Linked DNA regions of Homo sapiens: region 2 is linked to region 1. Evidence: promoter capture Hi-C in 16 types of primary human blood cells and fetal thymus (Javierre and others, 2016). All regions are on one chromosome and are shown on one strand. The core of a region is centred on a gene start or on the middle of the fragment in contact, and the rest is flanking DNA. Distances in the headings are between cores, read along the strand shown.

Region 1 (5,122 bases), core at 1,015-3,514:
CATGAGCTGAGCAGTAGCTGGGCGCTGGGGCTACACATGTTCAGAGAGCGATAGCTAGAGTCTGAGTTACTGGTTAAACTTAAAATGAGACACATTGCTATAGAAAAAAGGTTTTTGTGGTTTTTGTTTTTTGTTTTTTTTTTGTTTTTTTTGAGAAAGAGTCTCGCTCTGTCACCCAGGCTGGAGTGCAGTGGCACAATCTCAGCTCACTGCAACCTCCGCCTCTGTTCAAGCAATTCTTCTGCCTCAGTCTCCCAAGTAGCTGGGATTACAGGTGCCCGCCACCACACCCGGCTAATTTTTTGTATTTTTAGTAGAGACAGGGTTTCACCAAGTTGGCCAGGCCGGTCTTGAACTCCTGACCTCAGGTGATCCGCCCACCTTGGCCTCCCTAAGTGCTAGGATTACAGGCGTGAGCCACCGCACCCGGCCAGAAGGATTTTTATTGTTAGAAGATTTCCAAGGCCTAGAGAATGGCTCACTGAATGGAACCATGTTCTATATATGTCAAATTCCAGGGCAATCAAAAAAGGCAACAGAATTTGAGAGCCCCTTATTAATAACTGGGCATACTTGGAATTCCTCCATGCCCAATGTTCAACACCTCAACCCTTACCCTCATCTCTTTACCAAACATGTCCACTCCATCCTCAGCTGAAGAGAAAGGAACACTTAGGTCGTGAGAACAGGCCCTTCCTCCAAGATCTCCAGCCAGGATGCTCTGCCTAGGCCCGTGGGTCTCTGGATGAGACCCAGACCCAGGCACCTGACTCCTACCCTGCTACCTCCTCCCAACGCGCAGCCTCCCTGCACGCCCTGGGGTCAGGGGCTTGGCCTTCCTCACTTGATGAATTTCCGGGCGAAGGATTTCAGCTTTCCAGTGGCGGCGGCGGCAGCCAGCAGCAAGTCCAGACTCTTCCCGGACAGCATGTGGCCCAGGACTCCCAGCAGTCCCTCCGGTGACTTAGAGTGGTCTGCATCCATCGTCTGGGGACAGGACAGGAAATCAAGTCCTGAAGAACACTGAAGACCCCCCACCCAAGATACAGCCTAGCCACATTTTCTCTCTTCACAACCTGGAATGTAATCTACATCTTTCTGACTTCAATCTGGAAAATCATTCCTAAAACCCACCCCTGCTCTCCGATCCATCCCTCTCATCTACACTGGCATGCAGGTGGTAAGGTTGGAGTGGGCAAGGTCACGGCTAGGATCTTCTCTGTCCTTTCCTTTTTTAGACAGAGTCTCGCTCTATCGCTGAGGCTGGAGTGCAGTGGTGCGATCTTGGCTCACTGCAACCTCTGCCCCCCAGGGTTCAGCGATTCTCCTGCCTCAGCCTCCCAAGTAACTGGGATTACAGGCATGCACCACCACACCCAGTGAATTTTGTGTTTTTAGTAGAGACTGGGTTTCACCACGCTGGCCAAGCTGGTCTCAAACTCCTGACCTCAAGGGATCTTCCCACCTCAGCCTCCCAAAATGCTGGGATTACAGGCGTGAGCCACCGCACCCACGTCTCTGTTGTTTCCATGTGAGATGGCCTAAGTGAAAGCGCCTACTGCAGTGCCTGGTGTACAAATGAAGCTCCCACGGGTTAGCATTCAGTGGTAGCTGCCCTTGCCTCCCCTTTCACTACCTCCAAAGCAACTATGTATAAAAGCTAAAGGAGACAGAGGTCTGTGGCCTCTGTTTATTTATCTGCAAGCAGATGGAGCACTGGAAAGAAGAAAGAGAAGACTGTGGTGGCCAGGGAAGGGCACACTCACCTTGAGGATGTTTGTGACAGTGGGCTCCGCCCGGAGGATCAGCTGGATGTTGGGCTGGATGTTGGCATTCTCTCCCGATTTCTGCTGGGGTGCGTGCTCTCGGTCCGCTTTGCTGTGGACATCACCAGTTGGCCAAGGAAGGGAAGAGGAATGAAGAGAAATTCTTGACACGTTCCCTCGTTCAAGCCCGGAAGGAAATGCGCAGAGGAGGTGGGAAGCATGTAAGAACCTCCGAGGTTGGGGTGAAGTTTATGGAAGCATAGTCAATGTTGCAATCACTGATTTAGCATTAGTCTTTTTTTTTGAGACAGGTCTCACTCTGTTGCCCAGGCTGGAGTACAGTGGCACGATCTCGGCTCACTGCAGCCTCTGCCTCCAGAGTAGCTGGGCGCTCACCACCACGCCTGGCTACTTTTTTGTATTTTTAGTAGAGACGGGGTTTCACCATGTTCTACTGGTCTCAAACTCCTGACCTCAGGTGATCCACCCACCTTGGCTTCCCAAAGTCCTGGGATTACAGGTGAGCCAGCACACCTGGCAATTTATCATTAGTCTTTTTTTTTTTTGAGACAGAGTCTCGCTCTGTCACCCAGGCTGGAATGCAGTGGCGCGATCTCAGCTCAGTACAACCTCTGCTTTCCGGGTTCAAGTGATTCTCCTGCCTCAGCCTCCTGAGTAGCTGGAATTACAGGTGCATACCATCGCGCCTGATTAATTTTTGTATTTTTAGTAGAGATGGGGTTTCACCACGTTGGCCAGGCTGGTCTCAAACTCCTGACCTCGTGATCCACCCGCCTTGGCCTCCCAAATGCTGGGATTACAGGTGTGAGCCACCGCAGCCGGCCTATCATTAGTCTTAAATGCTCTGAAAGCACATTTAAGATTAAAGGAAGATTCAGGATTTTTATTTATTTATTTATTTTTTTTTTGAGACAAGGTCTCACTCTATCGCCCAGGCTGGGGTGCAGTGGCATGATTTCGCCTCACCACAATCTCCGCCTCCTGGGTTCAAGCAATTCTCGTGCCTCAGCCTCCAGAGTAGCTGAGATTACAGGCACACACCACCACGCCCAGCTGATTTTTGTATTTTTAGTAGACATGGGGTTTTGCCATGTTGGGCAGGCTGGTCTTGAACTCCTGGCCTCCAAGTAATCCACCCGCCTCCAGCCTAGGATTTTTACTTTTATCACAAAGATGGGTATGAGTTAAAGAGCAGTGACTAAGAGTGTAAAACTCTGGTCTGAAGACATCTGTGCTTTCTTTTCCTTCCTGTTCCCTGTACCCCCAGGCACGGTCCCAGTCACTTGCAGCCCAAACTTTCGACAGGAGGTTGAAAGGCACGCAGCAGCCCCACCGTAACAAGAGAGAGGTCAAGGGGCTCTTGGGGTAGCACAGGTGCGTTCACACTTACCGCTTAGCCATAAGGTTGTTGACGCTGGCCTCAGACAGAAGCCCCTGCTTGCCACATTCTTGGAGCAGGAAGTTTGTACAGTCACAGCTGTGAGGGAGAAAGATGCTGAGGGAACTGGGCACCTGGATAGGATGGTGAGGGGTGGGAGTGGCAGGTCCCTGAGCAGCATCCTCCCTCTTTCAGGATGAGGAAAATCTGGAGTGCCTGAGGGACGGTAGAGGGGCTCTGGGGACTTGGCAACTGTGGGCTCCTATTTCCTGCCCCTGCCAAGGGGAGTGAACAAGGAGACAGAGTCCCCTGAGGCTTCTCTGGCACAGAGATCAGGGGAAGAGCCCAGAACGCCTTCCAGTAGGGCGGGGGTGACCAGGGGAGCTCATACTTGCAGCGCTGGTCAGCTTTGTCCAACAAGGGGGTGAGCTTCAGCAGGAACTCAAAAGCACAGTTGACATCCTCAGTGAAGTCCTAGAAAGAGGCAGAAGTGTCCATCTGGTTTCCAGGGCCACCAGGCCCTGATCATCTCAGGCAACCTTGTCTGCTGGAGGCATCGGCCTGAGTTGCCTGGCTGCTTTCTGCCTGGAGCCTGGGTGTATGTTGTGGGTGCACGCAGACGCTGAAGCACACACACTGGCTGAAGCACACGTACACGCTGAAGCACACACACGCTGAAACACACACACTGAAGCACGCACACACTGAAGCACACGCACATGCTGAAGCACACGCACATGCTGAAGCATGCACATTGTGAAGCACGTGCACGCTGAGGTGTACACTCACATCCGGCTCTCTTCCAGGCATGAGAACACTGCCCAGCTGGGGCCTGAAGGACCCTCCCCTTTGCCCTTATTTCTGCTCCCATGCCTCCATCTCAATCCCCAACTCACCTTGTCTCCATGAGAGTACTTCTTCAACTTCACCAAAACCTGTGGAATCTAGGGGGTGAGGCAGGGGGAAAAACAGGAAGATCCATTTCTTTTCTCTTTCATCTACCCCTGAAGGCATCCCCCCGAACCCCTGCTCCAGGAAGAGAGACAGGAACACTCCTACCCTGGGAGTGAGAGCACACTTAGTGCTAAATGAGAAAGCCAATAGGTGCCCAGGCCCCTGATGCCCCCAGGCCTAGGCACAGGACACAAGCACCCTGCACCTCCGCTAGCTCAACAGAAAAAGATGCCATAAGCAAAAGTGGATCCCCAGCTTCAAGGAGGACTGGGGCCCCTTTCCCTGGCTCCCTTTACTGCCCTGCACCTATCTGTCTGATGACCAAGCTAAACTGCACCTCTGTGGTAAGAAACAACGGAGTCTGCCAAATGGGCTAAATATAGCCCTGGCACTTTCAGAGAAAATGATCAATGGGAACTTGCACTGGAATACCTGGCAGGCTGGGCCCAGTGCCCGCAGGGAGGAACACAGGGCAAAGGTCCAGGGTGCCACTGGTCTTGCTAAGAACCATTCCTAGACTGGCTCTGCCCCTCCCACGTCCCCAGTACCTTGAGGAAAGTGAAAGCTGTCCACTTGAGCTCCTCCGTACCCTCGGGAGACTCAATGAGCCCCACGAAGCAAGCTTTCCAGATCTCCAGGACAAAAAGTGGGGTGGGGATATGCTGTGGGAAGAGCCAAGGATGAGGCCTAAGAGGGTGCCCATACCCCGTCACCCTTCTGTGGACTCTGAGGATTTGGCTGGGTCAGAGACTGCATGGCAGAGTCACTGCTCAGCTATGTGCTGAGAACCAGGGGAGTAAGGTCCAATGACAGAAGTGTGCACGACTGGCACCCACTTTCCATCATGGAGCAGGAGAAACCCCACTTCTCCCAGGGAGAACCAGAAGAATCCTCCCTCCTGCCCCCAACAGGCTGGCCTGCCTTGGAGAAGGGAGAGCCACTCGGCCCCTCCCACCTGCATGCGCTTCACCATCGTCAGCTGCTCCACCAGGGACTGCGTCTC
Region 2 (5,122 bases), core at 1,384-3,883, 70 kb after region 1:
AGGAATCTGCCCAGCCTGGTTCCCCTGGCCTCTTAAGAGAGTGAGCCACAGTGGAGTCTATCCCTGTGTCCAAAAAGGACTTCGAGGTGCGAGTTGCAGGAGGTGGAAGTACAAACTGTCCAGCCTGGGGCTCTAAAATTCCCCCTTCAGATCTCAGCCTGGTAACAATGACCTTGGCTCTCTGGCCATTCAGGGACTTTGACCCTCTGGTTACATTGCCAATGAGGTGGCTGTGCTCCCGTGGTATTAGCAGGAGAAAAAGGTGACCTGCCTGCCACACCTCCGGCAAGCACCTAGATTGGTCTGCCATGGGCGGGGTGGGAGAAGGGAGGATCCCAGGACACATGTGACCTAACACATGCCATGCCACTGTGTCTGCAGAGGCACATGTCTTGCTCACCCACTGACACACACTGAACTGGGCAGGGCGGCCCTAAAATAGCTCAAGGTTGGTCAGGGTGAACCCAGCTCCTTGGAAAATAGTTGCACAACAGATCAGCTCCCCCGGTTTCAGGGCTGAGGTGGGGGATGGAATCATTAGTTGGCAGTAAATGAAGTTGACCTAGTTCACCCATCCCCCAAAAAGGAGTGAGACCTTCATGCAGAGGCTTCCAACGTGGAAGTGAGGAGCATACTCAAGAGTCTAGGTCTAGGTCTAGACCCATCACTACCAACTTATTTTGTGACCTAGAGGACATCAACTCCCCTCTTTGGGTCTCAGTTTTCCTTTCTGTGAGAAAAAAAGGACAGTATCATTTCAGCTATGATTGTGGGGTGCAGTTGCTTTGGGGAGCCCTTAGTAGGCAAACTGCAGCTTGTCTGGTGGAGATGGGGGTAAGACAATGCTCGCAGAACTAAGGAGAGAGAAGCTTGGGGAACAGGAATTTGTAATGTGGGGAAGCTGAGTCTAAATGCAGTACGGTGAAGTAGGTGCAAATAAGAGTGAAGTGGAAAGGAGTGAGAAGGGTGGTTAGGGGTGAGGTCTCTTTAGGGAGTGTAAAACAGAAGGCCATGAAAGGTCAGGAATGGCTCCATGTTACTTTGTTTTGGTGATGGGGGAGGGGGCCGGGCAGGCGGACCGGAAAAGGAGGCAGGCGGGGGCGGTGAGTCAGCCCAGCTTCACCCAGATCTCGGCGGGGCGGGGCAGGGCGGGAGCTGGGCCCTCAGCCGGCCTCACGTCCCTGCTCCACGTGTGCCTCTCGCACGTGGCTCCCCAACGAGGAACCCCGGAACTCGAGGCCCCGCCCTCCTCGCTTCCCGTCAATCGAGAGCAGTCGCCCCGCCTCCTACCCGCCCTTCCCCGGCCACCAGGTCGTGGGCTGGACCCCGAACGATAGCAGGGCCAGGACAACCTAGGGGAGGAGAGAAGGGAACACGCGTTGCCGGGGCGACCGGGGGGGCGGAGCTCATTATGTAACGAGGCCGGGAGGCAACGACCAATGGGGTGGCAGCCACGGCTTCTGCTGAATGAAAACAAACGCAGCACGTGGGCCCGGCTCTAGAGCCATGTGAGCCCTCCCGGCGGCCGGAGCCCTGTAGGTGCCCTCCCTCGGGCCGGGCACCACGCTCTGGACTCCTCAAGTGTCGCTCCCTCCTGTCACTGAGGATTCCCCAGTGAGATCCGAACGATTCTCCCAGCCCCTCCTTCCCTGAACCCCATCGCGCCACTCTTCTCAGATTCCCTCGCGCCTGCAGGAACTAGAGGAGGGGGAAGACAAGAGGGGAGGGGGTCCGTTTTCTGAGGCCAGGCATACTACAGCTGCAGGTAGTGGACAGATGGGGCCGTTTCGGGGCACTGTTCCAAAGCTCCCAGTCCCCCTAAATTCTTCGCTTCACCACCCGTACCTCCTCTCCATTTCCTCCTGCCCAGGGATTCGAGGCTCAAGGGAGCTTTGGGACTCTGAGGGGTGGTGATGGGGCGTTTCTGAGAGCATTTCCAGCCCGAACAAGCCGCTCTGGAAATCCCACACTAAAGCACCGCAGCACGTTAGCAAATCTCCGGGCCGAGGGACACCCCAGTCCCTTACAAAGTTCCTCTTTTTATAAGGCGTAGATGGAGGTGGGGAGACAGTGACAGGGAAAAGATGATAGTAAAGAAATCTCAGTACCTGTGTTGTTGTTGGAGTCCAGGGTCGTCATGTCTTCACCAGCTGAGAGCGGTCATTCAAACTGGACCTTGACTCAAACTAGAGGTTGCGATCGCCGCTGTTGCCCCCTGGGCACTGGCTAAGGGCGGGGAGTGGACCCCGCGACTCACGATCAGGATCCGAAGCACCCTGCAGCAAGGTCTTGGGGTGGCCGGACTGCAGCCCTGCAGAAGGGTTGGACGTTGAGGCAACGGAGTTCTGCTTTGCATGGGAAGAGCAGAGAGAGTGTGTAGGGGGAATCAGCCTGCAGTAGTTCTGGCTAGAAGGTAGCAAGGAGGGTCGGGTCTCTGCAGTGTACGGGGTGCCTCTGCCTGCCGGCTCCGCAGCGCTGCGGGGTGGCGAATCTGGAGCTCCCGGTGCAAAAGTCCCAGAGGAAGAGAGGTTGCAACCAGGAAGTAAGTAGGTGATGGGGAGAAACGGGGCACCGAGTCGCAAAGAGGCGAGACGTGTGCCCTGCTACGTTCCCTCGGCAGTAATATTTCACTCTGCCAATCTCAGCCGCCTTTTGCCCGAGCCTTTCCCTGGGACAGAGGGCTCTGCGCAGGCGCCAGCAGCCCAGGGTTCCCGGGCCGCACGCGGCACTGGAGCAGGTACCATGTGATCCCAGGGAGCGCCTCGTGCCCCAGTGACACACTTTTCCAACAGCCGGCACGTTGAGCTCTTGCGCGCCTGCGCAACGACAAGACTGTCGGGATTTGTAGTCCACCGACAAAGTGGGCGGACTGCGTGCCTTTCCCCTTTCTGCCTGGCAAAGCGCTTGCCGGGACCTGGGAGGAGCTGAGAGTGGGGTGGGGTGGGGTGCGCTGAAGAGTCAGGGTGGCGTGTTTAGAAAGCCTGTATGGCAGGGGCATGTGAATTTCTGGGGAGGGACTGGCAAGCTTGTTTGCTGTCTGGGAGATCAAAGCTAAGAGGCCCTTTCTGCAAACCTTGCAAACGTGAGGGCTTCACGTGATTGCAGGACTGACCTCGTCCTGAGGTTACTGGTGACCGGGAGAGAGAGAAGCCGGGGAGGGAGATTTCCCTGGAGTCAGGAGCTTAGGCTGCCCTCTGCTTCAGGGCAAAGTCCAGAGAAGGAAAGGAAATGTGACCCCCTTTCCCTTCTACTCGCCTTAGGGAGAACACCTCCAGGGGAAGGAGTTCCCACAGAGGTAGGGATGTCTGTAGGGACTCCCTGTTTGCTTGTATGACACCATTCCACCCACTCCAGTTGACTTTGGGGTGAGTCATTTCCCTTTGTCTGGGAAATAAAAAGGACAACAGAGGGGAACTAATAGTGAAAGTGCTTTGAGGTCCTAAAGTAATGGGGAAGAGGTGAGGCAGGGGGTGGGGGCAGAGTGACACCCCTGCCCCTCGGTGCTGGAGGATAAAATATGAATTCCACAGAAGATTACTACTCAGAGGGGAACATGTAGATCATCTTAAGCCTCCCTCTTTTTACTAGTGGGGAACAGGAAGCTTAGGAGAAGTGACCGACCCAAGGTCAGACGTCCATTGCTAGTTTCATCTGCCCACCCCGAATGGGAAGGTGGGTAGATGTACAAGTGAAATACTGAACAGGGGTTAGAAACAGCCAGCATTGCCGGGTGCTTTGGCTCATGCCTGTAATCCCAGCACTTTGTGAGGCTGAGGTGGGTTGATCACCTGAGGTCAGGAGTTTGAGACCAGCCTGACCAACACGGTGAAACCACGTCTCTACTAAAAATACAAAAATTAGCCGGATGTGGTGGTGGGTGCCTGTAATCCCAGCTAGTCAGGAGGCTGAGGCAGGAGAATCGCTAGAACCCGGGAGGTGGAGGTTGCAGTGAGCCGAGATCGCCATTGCACTCCGGCCTGGGGGATAGAGTGAGACTCTGTCTCCAAAACAAACAAACAAAAAACAGCCAGTATTTCGCTTCAGAGCAGCAACTGTCCCATGAGTAATAACAGATCTCAAGTAGAGGAGATCTATCATGTTAGAGGGCTTGGGTCATGGAGGGGATGGAAGCTTCTTAGGCAGCGAAGGGAGAGGGAGCCTGAGCCACCTGCTGCTCCCGCTAATTCCTCCCCAGTCCCAGTGCTTCTAGAGAGGGTTTTCTTCACATAGGAAGCCCTTCTCCACAGGCAGCTCCTGGGATGGTATTGATGGATGCCTGGGAAACATGAAAGCCACCGAAAAGGTAGAGAAAAAGAATATGGGAGTCCGGGGGTGGTGGCTGACACCTGTAATCCCAGCATTTTGGGAGGCTGAAGTGGGCAGATCACCTGAGGTCAGGAGTTCGAGACCAGCCTGGCCAACATGGTGAAACCCCATCTCTACTAAAAATACAAAAATTAGCTGGGCGTGGTGGCGCACGCCTGTAGTCCCAGCCACTCGGGAGGCTGAGGCAGGAGAATTGCTTGAACCCAGGAGATGGAGATTGCAGTGAGCCGAGATCATGCCACTGCACAACAGCCTGGGCAACAGGGTGAGAGTCCATCTCAAAGAAAAAAAAAAAAGGCCAAGTGTGGTGGTGGCTCACACCTGTAATCCCAGCACTTGGGGAGGCCGAGGCAGGTGGATCACCCGAGGTCAGGAGTTTGAGACCAGCCTGGCCAACATGGAGAAACCTCGTCTCTACTAAAAATACAAAAATTAGCTGGGCGTGGTGGCGCACGCCTGTAGTCCCAGCTACTCTACTCGGGAGGCTGAGGCAGGAGAATTGCTTGAACCCGGGAGGCAGAGGTTGCAGTGACCTGAGATCGCGCCAGTGCACTCCAGCATGGGCAACAAGACCGAAACTCCATCTCAAAAAAAGAAAAAAAAAAAAAGAATAATAATATGAGCACAGGAGTAAACTGGGTAGTGAGGACAGTGAGGTTGACTGCAGGAGCTTGACCACTCACCCTCTGACTCCTTGTAGAAGATGAGCTTCCTGGAATGGGCTAGGCTTTAGCTTTGTTCTCCTGCTCCCAAGAAAAGTGGGAGAGAGAGGGCAGTGGGCTCTTCTCTGGCCCTT

Evidence for each region. The method cuts DNA at HindIII sites, captures the fragments that hold promoters and counts their contacts. A CHiCAGO score of 5 or more calls a contact.
Region 2: the fragment with the promoter of NR1D1 here is called in contact with a fragment that was not itself captured in region 1 in 3 of 17 cell types (erythroblasts, megakaryocytes and endothelial precursors); the score reaches 7.3 in erythroblasts.

What each region holds. Positions count from the first base shown.
Region 1 is chr17:40,027,982-40,033,103 of GRCh38, forward strand. MED24 (mediator complex subunit 24) reads right to left here. Exons shown (of 26, transcript NM_014815.4): 8 at 5,075-5,122; 9 at 4,668-4,781; 10 at 4,062-4,109; 11 at 3,557-3,639; 12 at 3,178-3,264; 13 at 1,767-1,878; 14 at 845-987. Among named protein-coding and RNA genes, the nearest start is that of SNORD124, 2.9 kb to the left of the region's middle. The HindIII fragment of the contact is 4,950 bases long and covers 1-4,739 here.
Region 2 is chr17:40,097,956-40,103,077 of GRCh38, forward strand. NR1D1 (nuclear receptor subfamily 1 group D member 1) reads right to left here and starts at 2,634. Exons shown (of 8, transcript NM_021724.5): 1 at 2,109-2,634. The coding sequence starts at 2,139. RefSeq lists silencers at 281-575, 1,099-1,448, 1,459-1,548 and enhancers at 778-1,977, 896-1,880, 1,881-2,864, 2,330-2,399, 2,880-2,999 and 1 more. The HindIII fragment of the contact is 2,156 bases long and covers 868-3,023 here.